Linked DNA regions of Homo sapiens: regions 1, 2 and 4 are each linked to region 3. Evidence: promoter capture Hi-C in 16 types of primary human blood cells and fetal thymus (Javierre and others, 2016). All regions are on one chromosome and are shown on one strand. The core of a region is centred on a gene start or on the middle of the fragment in contact, and the rest is flanking DNA. Distances in the headings are between cores, read along the strand shown. Region 1 holds the start of CHKA (choline kinase alpha). Region 2 holds the start of NDUFS8 (NADH:ubiquinone oxidoreductase core subunit S8). Region 3 holds the start of C11orf24 (chromosome 11 open reading frame 24). Region 4 has its middle 6.7 kb from the start of PPP6R3.

What was found. Contacts are between HindIII fragments. The CHiCAGO score rates a contact against its expected background, and 5 or more counts as called.
Region 1: a contact is called between the fragment with the promoter of CHKA here and the fragment with the promoter of C11orf24 in region 3, in 4 of 17 cell types (neutrophils, activated CD4 T cells, monocytes and 1 more). The highest score is 11.6, in neutrophils.
Region 2: a contact is called between the fragment with the promoter of NDUFS8 here and the fragment with the promoter of C11orf24 in region 3, in 8 of 17 cell types (neutrophils, total B cells, endothelial precursors and 5 more). The highest score is 12.5, in neutrophils.
Region 4: a contact is called between a fragment that was not itself captured here and the fragment with the promoter of C11orf24 in region 3, in 2 of 17 cell types (total B cells and endothelial precursors). The highest score is 5.2, in total B cells.

The regions. Positions count from the first base shown.
Region 1 is chr11:68,119,652-68,123,057 of GRCh38, reverse strand. It overlaps CHKA (choline kinase alpha), which reads left to right and starts at 1,670. Exons shown (of 12, transcript NM_001277.3): 1 at 1,670-2,230. The coding sequence starts at 1,881. It overlaps CHKA-DT (CHKA divergent transcript), which reads right to left and starts at 1,170. Exons shown (of 4, transcript NR_183630.1): 1 at 855-1,170. RefSeq lists silencers at 816-915, 1,266-1,695, 2,266-2,395 and enhancers at 165-931, 932-1,697, 2,546-2,675, 2,816-2,945, 3,371-3,406. The HindIII fragment of the contact is 18,960 bases long and covers 1-3,406 here.
Region 2 is chr11:68,029,430-68,032,198 of GRCh38, reverse strand. NDUFS8 (NADH:ubiquinone oxidoreductase core subunit S8) reads right to left here and starts at 1,518. Exons shown (of 7, transcript NM_002496.4): 1 at 1,466-1,518; 2 at 1-47. The coding sequence starts at 47. GLTC1 (glycolysis associated regulator of LDHA post-transcriptional modification 1) reads left to right here and starts at 1,765. Exons shown (of 4, transcript NR_197583.1): 1 at 1,765-1,906. RefSeq lists enhancers at 1,312-1,491, 1,483-1,777. The HindIII fragment of the contact is 7,666 bases long and covers 1-2,769 here.
Region 3 is chr11:68,270,022-68,273,390 of GRCh38, reverse strand. It overlaps C11orf24 (chromosome 11 open reading frame 24), which reads left to right and starts at 1,418. Exons shown (of 4, transcript NM_022338.4): 1 at 1,418-1,534. It overlaps LOC105369363 (a long non-coding RNA gene), which reads right to left and starts at 1,289. Exons shown (of 3, transcript XR_950248.3): 1 at 1,215-1,289. RefSeq lists an enhancer at 455-1,309 and a silencer at 1,221-1,620. The HindIII fragment of the contact is 7,211 bases long and covers 1-2,728 here.
Region 4 is chr11:68,452,513-68,455,566 of GRCh38, reverse strand. No RefSeq gene overlaps it. Among named protein-coding and RNA genes, the nearest start is that of PPP6R3, 6.7 kb to the left of the region's middle. The HindIII fragment of the contact is 6,956 bases long and covers 1-3,054 here.

The DNA.
Region 1 (3,406 bases), core at 421-2,920, 150 kb after region 3:
CTTGGCTTCTCAGCCTTTCAAACATCCAGTGGCCGGCCTCCGTCCCAGGGGCCTTGGTCTCTCCTACCTCCCTGCAGGTCAACTTCCAGGCCTGTCGCCACAGCAGCCTTACAAAAGTCCCCTTTCATTTTTATCCTTAAATAAGACCATTTTGCGTGGAGCAAGTTCAGCCAAGTACACACTCTAAAAGATTTTTGCGGCCGGGCGCGGTGGCTCACTCCTGTAATCCCAGCACTTTGGGAGGCCGAGGCGGGCGGATCACGAGGTCAGGAGATCGAGACCATCCTGGCTAACACGATGAAACCCCGTCTCTACTAAAAATACAAAAAAAAAAAAAAAAAAAAAAAAAAAATTAGCCAGGCGTCGTGGCGGGCGTCTGTAGTCCTAGCTACTCGGGAGGCTGAGGCAGCAGAATGGCGTGAACCCGGGAGGCGGAGGTTGCAGTGAGCCGAGATCGTGCCACTGCACTCCAGCCTGGGCGACTGAGCAAGACTCCGTCTCAAAAAAAAAACCAAAAAACATTTTTGCTTCTGGAAGACTGTGAACTCCCCACATAGAAGCATTTCCTGTGTATCAGGCACTGGATTTCCTAAGCCCCTGGCAGCCCAGGAAACCTCCTGTTTCAGCTCATGTCCCATAAAATGGGATCCATAATTTTTATATGTATCAGCACCTCACTTCTAGGAAGGACGGGAGCAGTGAGGGACATGGGGCAGTGTGTGGCAAACGGTAGCAGGGGCCCTTGCCCCTCTACCCCGGCAAAGGTGCGTTAGTCACGGTCACAAGGCTGTTTCCTGCGGGGGATGGGGAGGCAGGGGCAGCGTCCACAACGCCAGTAGCCCCGTGGCACGCACCTTTGGCCTGTGCTCTGGGCAGTTGCGGCGGCCCCATGGCGGGGATGATGCCCCTCCCTCGACGGTCCCTGGGCCTCCAGCCCTGAACTTCTAGGCCCGAGCATCCTCAGTACCACGGACAGGGAAACTGAGGCTGCGGGAGGCGTGCAGAGGGCTGGGCCCCGGTAGCCGGCGTGCAGCCGGGCCCAGCCTGGCCCACCGTGTGGCCTCGAGCCCGTCACCTCTTCCCTCCTTCAGACCTCGGTTTCTTAGTAATTCTTCGGGCTCCGCGTTGGACAGGGCGAGACGCGCCTGTGGCAGCGCTGGGAAATGTTACAAAATCACACCCACTGAGCCCCAGGAGGAGGCTGCTCGCCCAAGGTCACGCGGAGAGGGCAGTAGCCTCCAGACACGTTTCCTGCCTGCCCCTGCCAGGCCCGGCCTCTGATGTCACGGGGCTTCCGAGGGGTCCAAGGAAACTTTCAGCTCCCAAAGCCAACCCCGGGGTCCTCCGAGGCTCAGGAGCCTCCCTCGCTCGGCCCAGTCCGGCTCCGTCCCACCGCGGAGGCGCTCTCCCGGCGCCCCCCGCGCCTCGCTCCCCTCTCCCCCTTCCCTGCGACCGCCGGGGCGCCCCCTCGACGCCCCGCCCCCTTCGCCCAGGCCCCGCTCACGGAGGCCGCAGCGCTCTGGGTTGGGGGCGGCGCCGCAGCCAATGGGGAGGCGGTGTGGCGAGGGCGGCGGCGGTTATGATGCGCCGGGCCGGCGGACGGCGGCCAATCAGTGGCGAGCGCGAGGGCGGGCTGTGACGCGGCCGGCGCTCCTCGTGCGGCGGCGGCAGAGGAGCGAGTGCAGCGGCCAGCAGCACATCCCCGCTCCACAGTCGCCGCAGTCGCCGCAGCCGCCGCCGCCGCCCCGCGCGCCCAACCGCCGCGGCCCCCTGCCCCGCCGGCCTGCCAGTGAGAGAGCGGCGAGGGGGCGCCCGGCCGGACTCTGAGCCTAGTCCTCTCGCGCTGCGGCCGCCCGCGCCTCCTCGGCCGCCTGTCGGGCATGAAAACCAAATTCTGCACCGGGGGCGAGGCGGAGCCCTCGCCGCTCGGGCTGCTGCTGAGCTGCGGTAGCGGCAGCGCGGCCCCGGCGCCCGGCGTGGGGCAGCAGCGCGACGCCGCCAGCGACCTCGAGTCCAAGCAGCTGGGCGGCCAACAGCCGCCGCTCGCGCTGCCCCCTCCGCCGCCGCTGCCGCTGCCGCTGCCGCTGCCCCAGCCCCCGCCGCCGCAGCCGCCCGCAGACGAGCAGCCGGAGCCCCGGACGCGGCGCAGGGCCTATCTGTGGTGCAAGGAGTTCCTGCCCGGCGCCTGGCGGGGCCTCCGCGAGGACGAGTTCCACATCAGTGTCATCAGGTCGGTGGCGCCGGGTCTGGGGGCCGCGGGACAGTCAGGTGACGCGGGGCGGGGCCGGGGCGGGGTCCGGGCAGGGGGCGTGGGCCGGGGGGGTCGGGGGCCGGGGGAGCCGGGGCCGGGGCGGAGGCCGGGGACCGGGGACCGCAGCCGGCGAAAGCCCTCCTTCTCCCAGCCCTGGGTAATCCAAGGGAAGCGGGTTCGCGGCCGCCGCAGGCCGTCCACAAACAGGCTTTTGTAAAAACGTCGGTTTCATGAGAAAACGGGTCTGTTCTAGGAGAACAATACCGTTCCATCACGAAGTGCGTGTGGTACTGACGCTTAAGATAGGTCTAGAAAGTCTCTGCGGTTTAGGGCCTTGAATGAAGGTGTTGTGGCTGGCTTTAAAAACACAAACCACTTTTTAACTTTTTTCTGTTAGTTTTTCGAGTTCGCGATTTGATGTCTTGTTCCCTCTCCAAGAGTCATTGTTAGTGGAGGAGTAGCATTTTCTCATCCCCTAAGAGACATCACTATAGCTGTGTTACTAGACAAAGGTGGGAGGCGTGGCTCCTAAAATAAGAGTAAGGTAGAAATGTTTTTTCCTTTTTTTTTTTTTTTTGAGACGGAGTTTCGCTCTTGGTCCCCAGGCTGGAGTGCAGTGGCGCGACCTCGGCTCACTGCAACCACGGCCTCCCGTGTTCAAGCGATTCTCCTTGCCTCAGCCTCCCGAGTAGCTGGGATTACAGACACACGCCACCACGCCCGGCTAATTTTGTATTTTTAGTAGAGACAAGGTTTCTCCATGTTCGTTAGGCTGATCTTGAACTCCCGACCTCAGGTGATCCACCCGCTTCGACCTCCCAAAATGTTGGGATTACAGGCATGAGCCACCGCGCTCGGCCATTTTTTCCTTTTTTTAAACTTGAAAATATTTAATCTTAAATTTGAATTACAGAAGTACGCGTGTAGGTATTCAGACTTAACAGAAGTCTGACCTTCTTTCACCACTCTGCTCCGAAGACATAACCATTCAACGTAGTGTGTGCATCCTTCTATTGAGACCTTTAAAGATGTGTTCCCGGGCCGGGCGCAGTGGCTCACGCCTGTAATCCCAGCACTTTGGGAGGCCAAGGTGGGCGGGTCACGAGGTCGGGAGATCGAGACCAGCCTGGCCAACATGGTGAAACCCCATATCTA
Region 2 (2,769 bases), core at 269-2,768, 240 kb after region 3:
GCCTGGGCCAGGGCCCGCAGCAGCATAGGCGTGGTCAGGCAGCGCATCTGGTGGCATAAAAAGGGATGGAGGGTGGGGTGTGCCCAAGAACCATCCTCTTCTGAGACTGGCACCGCAAGGATCCCAAGTCTCCACTGACATGTGTCACTTTGCCCTCTACTCGCACCCCATTGCTGTCAGAGGCACAGATGGCTTTCCTGTTCCCAGCGCCTCCCAGCTTTCCATCTGATTCAGCTTGGCTGAGCTACAATTCAGTTTCTGTGGACCCCAAGTTCTGCCTCACCTAAGAAACCTTTTAAATCCATCCTTCCTTTCTCCCTCCCAGAGATCCTGTTTCCCACCTTTCTGCTCCTCCCTTCATCCTCCCCAAATCTAACCAAAAACAACATTACCAGCCCCCGCCAGCATGCACTGAGAGCGAACTTTGTTAGCTCTCCTCCCCCAGGAACCGTGCCCAGGGGTGGAAAGCGCTGCCATCCTATCCTTACAAGGACTCCACGAGGGAGGCACAAATAAGGCGCTGGGACTCAGTTTGTTGAGTGACTCGCTAGGGCTGGGTGTGGTGGCTCACGCCTGTAATCCCAGCACTTTGGGAGGCTGAGGCAGGTGGATCACCTGAGGTCAGGAGTTTGAGACCAGCCTGGCTAACATGGTGGAACCCCGTCCCTACCAAAAAATACAGAAATTAGCCAGGTGTGGTGGTGGGCACTTATAATCCCAGCTACTCGGGAGGTTGAGGTAGGAGAATCGCTTGAACCCAGGAGGCAGAAGTTGCAGTGAGCCCAGACTGCACCACTGCCCTCCAACCTGGGCGACAGAGTGAGACCTTGTCTCAAAAAAAAGATAAAAAAGTGACTTGTCGGAAGTCACACGATAAGGAGGTGGGCCGAGGATCGGAACCCAGCCCTGCCCTGCTGGAAACTCTTCAAGGCCTGAACAGTCCTCGGTACCACATTCCTTTCCCCAGCTTCAAGGCCCTCCTGGAACTGTCCCCCAGCCTGCCGCGTGACCTTGGGCAGATGATGTGACCTGACCTCCGTCTTCTCACCTATGAAGTGGGTTGGGGGCGGTTGGTCTTGGGAATTAGGGGAGCCCGTACATGCCAAGGGCACCCCAGAGCCCGGCACTTAGCCGGCGCTCATAAGAGCTCATCCCACGACCTGTGAACCCCCTAACAGGCCCACTCCTTTGGATCACTGACTGCAGTTCCAGGGACCCAACCCAGCACCTTCCCCACCTTCCCAGTGATCTCCGACCCTAACTAGGCCGGTGGCGCAGAGCGGGCGGCGCATGCGCCCTGAGAGCCGGCTCCCCGCTGCACCTGAAGGACACGGAGGCCGCGGATCCTGAGTGAGCCGAGGGGAAGCCCAGGCGCAGAGCTGGCGGCGCCAACGGGGACACCACACTCGCCCCCGACGCCACGCTGCCCAAGCCCGACTTTCACGGCCAAAACGTGAACACCCACCTTGAAGCGCCGCCGCTACTTGCCTTGCCAAGCAGGCCAGTCAATCGGGAGGCGGAGGCTACACTGTAGGACGCTGCCATTGGGCCAGCGGGTTCCCCCTTTTCTGTATTGATGCTTCATGGTGTGGTCTGATTGGCCAGCAAGGCTGCTGAAAGAGGCGGGATTCAGAAATATCTTTCTTTTGATTGGCTAGGAGAGACCGGCGCTTGAAGTTTGTAGGGGGCCGCCATGTTGGTTTGGGGAGGCCAATAAGTGAAGACCTCCGAGCCGCTGGAGGCGGGACATCCGGGGCGTGGTTTAGAAAGAGTGCTTTCGCCGTGGGTGCAGAGGGTGGGCCCGCCGGGTTGGGTGGGGGGCGTGTGATGACGGTAATGGCGACGAGATGCTCAACTCACGCGGCCTCTTTTAATCCTCACAGCAGCTCTGCGTGGAGAAACTACAGTAACGTGTTACCACGTTAAGGCGGGAAGCTGAGGCATGGGAGTATTTAGTAACGTTCCCGGGCCGTAGAGCTGCGGTGTGCGGCCGCCTGATCCACCTGATCTGTATGACTCCCGTACTCAACCAGCCTATGTTTCCTACCAGCGAATTTTTTTTTTTTTTTTTTTTTTTTTCTTTTTTTGAGACAATCTGGCTCTGTGGCTCAGGCTGGAATGCAGTGGTGCGATCTCGGCTCACTGCAGCCTCGACCTCCCAGGCTCGGGTGATCCTCACTTCTCAGCCTCCCGAGCAGCTGGAACCACAGTCGCCTGCCACCACCAGGCTCGGCTAATTTTTGTATTTTTTGTAGAGACGGGGTCTCGCCATGTTGCCCAGGCTGGTCTGGAACTCCTGGACTCAGGCGATCCTCCTGCCTCGGCCTGCCAAAGTGCTGGGATTACAGGCGTGAGCCACCACGCCGGGCCTTTCCCCGGGAATGCTGTGGTAGAGGGACCCGCAGAGGCCCCGAGGCTGCCTGCATGTGTGTGTTGGGAGGATCTGCGCTGAGGGTAGGTAGGAGTTGGGCAGGCCAGGACAGGAAGGAGGCAGAGGGCATGTCCCATGCCCGTGCAGAGGGAGGACACGCATGGTAGACCAGGACGAGGACAAGGGCAGGCTCAGTGTGTGCAAAGGGGACAGTGGTTTGGGATTTGCATGCAGATGCCCGAGCCTCCAAAGGACCTGTGGGCCACAGGGAGACCCTGGGGGAGTTCAAGCTGAGGAGTGGAGAGGGCTTTGGGCTGGTCAGCAGGTGCTCAGAGGAGAGGGGCTGGCCCTAGAGAGAAGGGAGGTCTTGGGATGGTGGCCCACACCTGACCCTGGCC
Region 3 (3,369 bases), core at 169-2,668:
ACTGTACTTCATGTTAGATCCGAACTAGTTGGAAAAATTAAAGCAAATACATAGTGAAAGGATCTGATCTTCACATGATCCAACCGGCGTTGGGTCTCAGCAAACCCAACTTTGCAGGTTAAATTCCACACATGAACTGTGGTTGAACTGGGGATGGTGGTGGTGACATCAAATCGCATTTCAGGTGCTCCCAGAGCTCGGAGTGGATGGTAGATCCTGTCTTTGCCCAATCTCAGCTTTCTGTGTCTCTTAGCTTCCTAGCCGAAGACCCCAAGGCAGGTTATAAAACTGGAAATAAAGTCTTGGTTTGCTCCTGTGAAATCATCCTTCGCAGACAGGTTTTGGTTTGGACCGGGGGATGCCTGAGGGTCTTATACAGACTGGGATTCAGTCACAGAACTACTAACTTGCAAAGCCTATTTCTTTCTTTCTTTTTTTTTTTTGGAGACAGAGTCTCGCTCTGTCGCCCAGGCTGGAGTGCAGTGGCACGATCTCTGCTCACTTCAACCTCCACCTCCCAGGTTCAAGCAATTCTCCTGCCTCAGCCTCCCGAGTAGCTGGGACTACAGGCGCACGCCACCACGCCCGGCTAATTTTTTGTATTTTAGTAGACACAGGGTTTCACCATGTTGCCCAGGCTGGTCTCGAACTCCTGAGCTCAGATAATCCGCCCGTCTCGGCCTCCCAAAGTGCTAGGATTACAGGCAAGAGCCACCGCGCCTGGCCTGCAAAGCCTATTTCTAACCAAAGTCAAGTCCCACACACTTGCCTCTAAATTGCGTTTTGCTCCTTTGTTATCCCAGGTTTTACAATTACAGAGCACTTGATGAGCCTGTTTCCACGTCTGTAAAATGAGGCGAAGTTCTTCACTGTGCTATTGCAGAATTAAGCCACTGGCTCTATAGGCAAAGTGCTTAGCACGGGCGTGGCACGCTGCGGGTGCACAGAAACGCTCGCTGCCACCCCACCCTTAACTACCGGGCACCCCAGCGCCCCGCCAGGGGCTGAAGAAACGTGGGAGGAAGCGGAGGAACGCGAAGGGCGTGTGCCCGCGAAAGGTCTCACGAGGCGTTTCGAGGTCGCCTCTTCAGGCTCGGCTGCCGACAAGGTGCCTCTGAGCTCACCCAGCCCAACCCGCGCACCCCGGGACCCCAAGACGGCAGCGGGCACAGCTGGGCAGCAGAGACCCGGGAACACCCACTTCCGCCACAGACCTGCTCAAAATAGCTCCTTCTGGCAGCGCGCAAGAAGTGGCCCGAGCCGGCCCCGGGGAGGCGGGGCCTGAGAGCAGACAACCCCCCCACTTCCGGCTCGCCTCCGTTCGCCACAGGCCCCGCCGCAGCCGCTCTTCGCCCCGGCCAGCAGGCCCGCCCCGCCCTCCGTGACGTCATTTCCGGCGTTTGGGCGGGGCCCGGGCAGGGCGCGCTGCCCGGAGCTGCCTGGGTTGCGCTGCCGGCCACGTCCCCGCGCCGGGCCTCAGGCTCCTTCCTACTGTCCGAGGGCCACCAGGCCGCCGGGGGCCTGCTGCGCCCGGGTAAGGGGCTCGCACTGCCGTCCGGGTAGCTGCTGTCAGGGCTCCCTGACTGGCTTGGGACTGAGAGACAGAGGTTGGGGGGCAGGAGGAGGGTTGGATGGGGGCACGAGGGGCAGTGGGAGAGTGAGTGGGGCTGAGAGAGGCAGGAGGAACGGGACAGGAGGAGCGGCGGATGGGGCACGCACAGAGTGCAAGACGCTGAGCAATGCAGGTACTGAAGAAGTCAACTGGGGGCCGAGCATGGCTGGGGGCCCAAGAGACAGGAGGAGGGAGGAGGGCCGAAGGGGGCCCAGACTGGAGAAGAGGCCGGCTTGTCCCATTGTGGGAGCAGAATGGGGACACTCTGGAAGGGGGCCGAATTTGTCCTGGGGTCTTTCCCGGGCAAGCCCAGGACGGGACTGGACCCCAAGAAGTGTCGCTCTTACTTGAGTGACACAGACCTATCCCCCAGACCCTCTCTCTACCTGGGTGGAGGTTGTGCATTGCCCCAGATTCCCTCCCCTGCCCATCTGTCTCCCTGCCTGCTTCCCCCGTGCGAGTCACTTAGTAGCCCCCGTGTGGCTGCTTAGCATGTTGACTTAATCGTTAGGCTGATAGGAGGAATCGGCCTCCACACGCATGGTTTGCCACCAGAAATAATCATCGTGCTTAGAAATCTGACTGTAATAACTTGCAGCTATCCCTCGCCCCAGGAAAATCTCTAACATTTCGATAAAATCAGCTAGGAAAATCTTTAAAATACAGATGTTTCCATTTATACAGTGGATCTGCCTAATGGACAAAGGAATGTCAGAGCTACCCACGTTCTTAGCAAAAACTAGGCCCTAGTATTTAGCTGTGTTACCAAAACTTCCAGAAACCTGGAAGCAAGCAAGGTAGTTAATGTAATATAATAAATGTCCAATGTTCTAGGTTCCCGTCTGCCACAGAGTCACATCCTTTGGACTACAGGACAATGTCTATATACACAAAGCCATAAGTCTGTGTTCCTTGGGCTTCTGCTACCAAAGTTCAGCCAGGTGACGTGTCAGGATTAGGTACCTGCAGTTTGCCCTGTATTTGTGTTTGCAGTTCCTACTCCTTGGTATCTGTAGCTTGCCTAACTTGGTGTGGGGGCCTGGCCATGTTGCGGCTGAGTGAGTCTTAATAGCCTGATAGAATGTGGGGGTAACAGCTGTAGTCCTTTACCAAGCTTCAGGATTGGTCTTTGGAACCTCTCTATGCCAGAAAAAAAGAATTAAGTTATTTCTTTCCCTTTTTTTTTTTTTTTAAGAGATGGGGTCTCACTATGTTGCCCAGGCTGAACTCAAACTTCTGGGCTTGTAATCCTCCCACCTCAGCCTCCTGAGTGTCTGGGATTACAGGCATGCAGCACCACGCCTGGAGTCCAGTTTTGTGTAACTTGCATAAAGTGCGCCACATATAACAAGCCAAGGTTCGGAACACAAGAATTCAGACAAGATGCCTTGGGAGGCATCTCGAGGTCATGAACCAGAAAAGGATAGGGAGGTTGACACCCAGGGGCATAGTTGGGGGTGCCTTTGTCATGGAGTGTCACATGGCTCAAGGGAGTATCCTGTTGCACCTTCCTTGCAGATCCTATGGGGAGCTGACCCCTGAAGAAGGGAGCTCCCAGTGCCAGCCTAACCTTCCGTCTTTCCATCTGCCCTGGTCTCCAACTTAATACAAACTTAATTCTCTCTCGCTCATTCCCCTCCTGCCCCTGGGGTCTCTTTTTTCCCATCTATTATGGTCTGAGACCCTGATCTACCCAGTCTCCCTGTACCACATAATAATGAGAATAACTGGTGGGGTCCCGAGACCCACATCCTAAT
Region 4 (3,054 bases), core at 449-2,948, 180 kb before region 3:
CCCGGGCGATGCTGCCTCAGTGCCCCAGGGCAGGCAGGAAGCTCCCACACCCATTCTGGAATGAGGGGTTGGAGGAAGGCTGAGCTGAGCAAAGGACCCATCTCTGCTCTGGTTGGTGGGGAGGGAGCCCATTATACAAGAGACCCCTCAGGGCTCAGTGAGGGGTGACAGAGACTTGGGGAGTAGTGGCTGTCACTGCAGAGGTGAGAGGGTTTGGAGAGAAGGTACATGCCTTTTTGGCCACATTGAGTAGCACCTGGTAGCCAGTTAGTAACGTGTATTGGATAAACAAAAGATTAAACGGATGCAAAAAAAAATGTTGGCTTTGCTTCTTTTTACCCAAACCTCAGTTCCCTCAAGTAGATTCTGGGAACACCCCCTACCTGGCTGGACTGTTGTGAAGTTTAAATAAGCCAGGTTAACTTCACCTCCTCCTTTAAGACACAGCTCAGACACTGCCTCCTCCAAGAAGCCCCCTCTGGCTTCCTGTGTGAATATGACGGCCCTCTGGGCTCTAGGGTATCTTAGAACAATGCTTCCTTATGGCTTTGGAACCCCGCTGTCTCCTGGATTGGGAGCAAATGCAGGGGAGGAGCCACACCTGACTAATCTCTGGGTCTCCCAGCACATAAGTGGCATAAGGGCAGGGCTGTGCCCGCTTCAGGCACTTACTGAAGGATGTACTTGGCAGAGGGTAGGCAGCCGGCGGATGAGCCCCTCACTCTCCCCAGCTGACTGCGTGGGCGGGAAAGGCGGGTTCAGGAGACCCAGCCTCCCTGGGCTGTCACCACCTCTGCACATCCAGCCCCATTGATCAAGGGTTCAATTTTTGGGGTCCTGTTGGGAGGCCAGGAGACTCTCTCCAGGCACTTCTTCCAGGTCTTTGTGTTAGGGTGTGTGTGTGTGTGTGTGTGTGTGTGTGTGTGTTGTTTGTTTTATTTTATTTATTTATTTATTTATTTATTTATTTATTTATTTATTTATTTTGAGACGCAGTCTCGCTCTGTTGCCCAGGCTGGAGGGTGGTGGCATGATCTCGGCTCACTGCAAGCTCCGCCTCCCGGGTTCACGCCATTCTCCTGCCTCAGTCTTCCTGAGTAGCCGGATTACAGGCGCACGCACCATGCCTGGCTAATTATTTTGTTTTTTTAGTAGAGACAGGGTTTCGCCACGTTGCCCAGGCTGGTCTTGAATCCCTGGCCTCAAGCGATCCGCCCGCCTCAGCCTCCCAAAGTGCTGGGATTACAGGCGTGAGCCACCGTGCCCGCCCAGCCTAGGGGTACATGAAACTTTTTTTTTTTTTTTTTTGAGACAGAGTTTCACTCTGTCCTCAGGCTGGAGTGCAGTGGCGTGATCTCGGCGTACTGCAATCTCCGCCTCCCGGTTCAAGCGATTCTCCTGCCTCAGCCTCCCGAGTAGCTGGGATTGCAGGCACGCGCCACCACACCCAGCTAATTTTTGTATTTTTAGTAGAGACGGGCTTTCACCATGTGGGACAGGATGGTCTCGATCTCCTGACCTCGTGATCCGCCCGCCTCAGCCTCCGAAAGTGCTGGGATTACAGGCCTGAGCCACCGTGCCCAGCCATGATGTTTTGATACAGGCATATAACGTATAATAATCACATCAGGGTAAATGATGTAACCATCACATCAAGCATTTATCCTTTGTGTTACAAAAAAAAATCTAATTATACTTTCCTACTTATTCTTTTTTTTTTTTTTTGTTGAGACGGAGTCTCCCTCAGTCGCCCAGGCTGGAGTGCAGTGGCATGATCTCAGTTCACTGCAAGCTCTGCCTCCTAGCTCTGCCTCCTGGGTTCATGCCATTCTCCTGTCTCAGCCTCGCGAGTAGCTGGGACTACAGGCGCCTGCCACCGTGCCCGGCTAATTTTTTTTTTTGTATTTTTGGTAGAGACAGGGTTTCACCGTGTTAGCCAGGATGGTCTCGATCTCCTGACCTCATAATCCGCCCGTCTCGGCCTCCCAAAGTGCTGGGATTACAGGCATGAGCCACCGCCCCCAGCCTATTTATTCTTAAATGTACAATAAATTATTGTTGACTCCAGTCACCCTGCTGTGCTACCAAATACGGATCTTCTTCATTCTATCTAACTGTATTTCTGTACCTGTTAACCATCTCTCCTCCACCTCACCCCCCAAACCCACTACCCTTCTCAGCCTCTGGTAACCATCCTTCTACTCTCTATCTCTATGAGTTCAATTGTATTAATTTTTAGCTCCCCGGCCGGGCATGGTGGCTCACGCCTGTAATCCCAGCACTTCAGGAGGCTGAGGCAGGTGGATCACGAGGTCAGGAGTTTGAGACCAGCCTGGCCAACATGGTGGAACCCCATCTCTACTAAAAACACAAAAATTAGCTGGGCGTGGTGGTGGGCGCTTGTAGTCCCAGCTACTTGGGAGGCTGAGGCAGGAGAATCGCTTGAAACTGGGAGGCAGAGGTTGCAGTGAGCCAAGATTGCGCCACTGCACTCCAGTCTGGGTGACAGAGTAAGATTCCATCCCGAAAAAAAAAAAGTTTAGCTCCCACAAATAAGTGAGAACACGTGAAGTTTCTCTTTCTGTGCCTCGCTTGTTTCACTTAACATAATGACCTCCAGTTCCATCCACGTTGTTGCTTTGTTATAAATGACAGGATCTTGGTCAGGCGCAGTGGCTCATGCCTGTAATCCCAGCACTTTGGGAGGCTGAGGTGGACTGATCATGAGGTCAAGAGATCGAGACCATCCTGGCTAACACAGTGAAACCCCGTCTCTACTAAAAATACAAGAAATTAGCCGGGCGTGGTGGTGGGCACCTGTAGTCCCAGCTACTCAGGAGGCTGAGGCAGGAGAATGACATGAACCCGGGAGGAGGAGCTTGCAGTGAACTGAGATTGCGCCACTGCACTCCAGCCTGGGCGACAGAGCGAGACTCCGTCTCAAAAAAAAAAAAATGTTTGGTAAAATTCAGCAGTGAAGCCATTTGTTCCTGGGCTTTCTTTGTTGGGAAACATTTTATTACAGTTTTCATCGCATTACTTGTTATTGGTCTG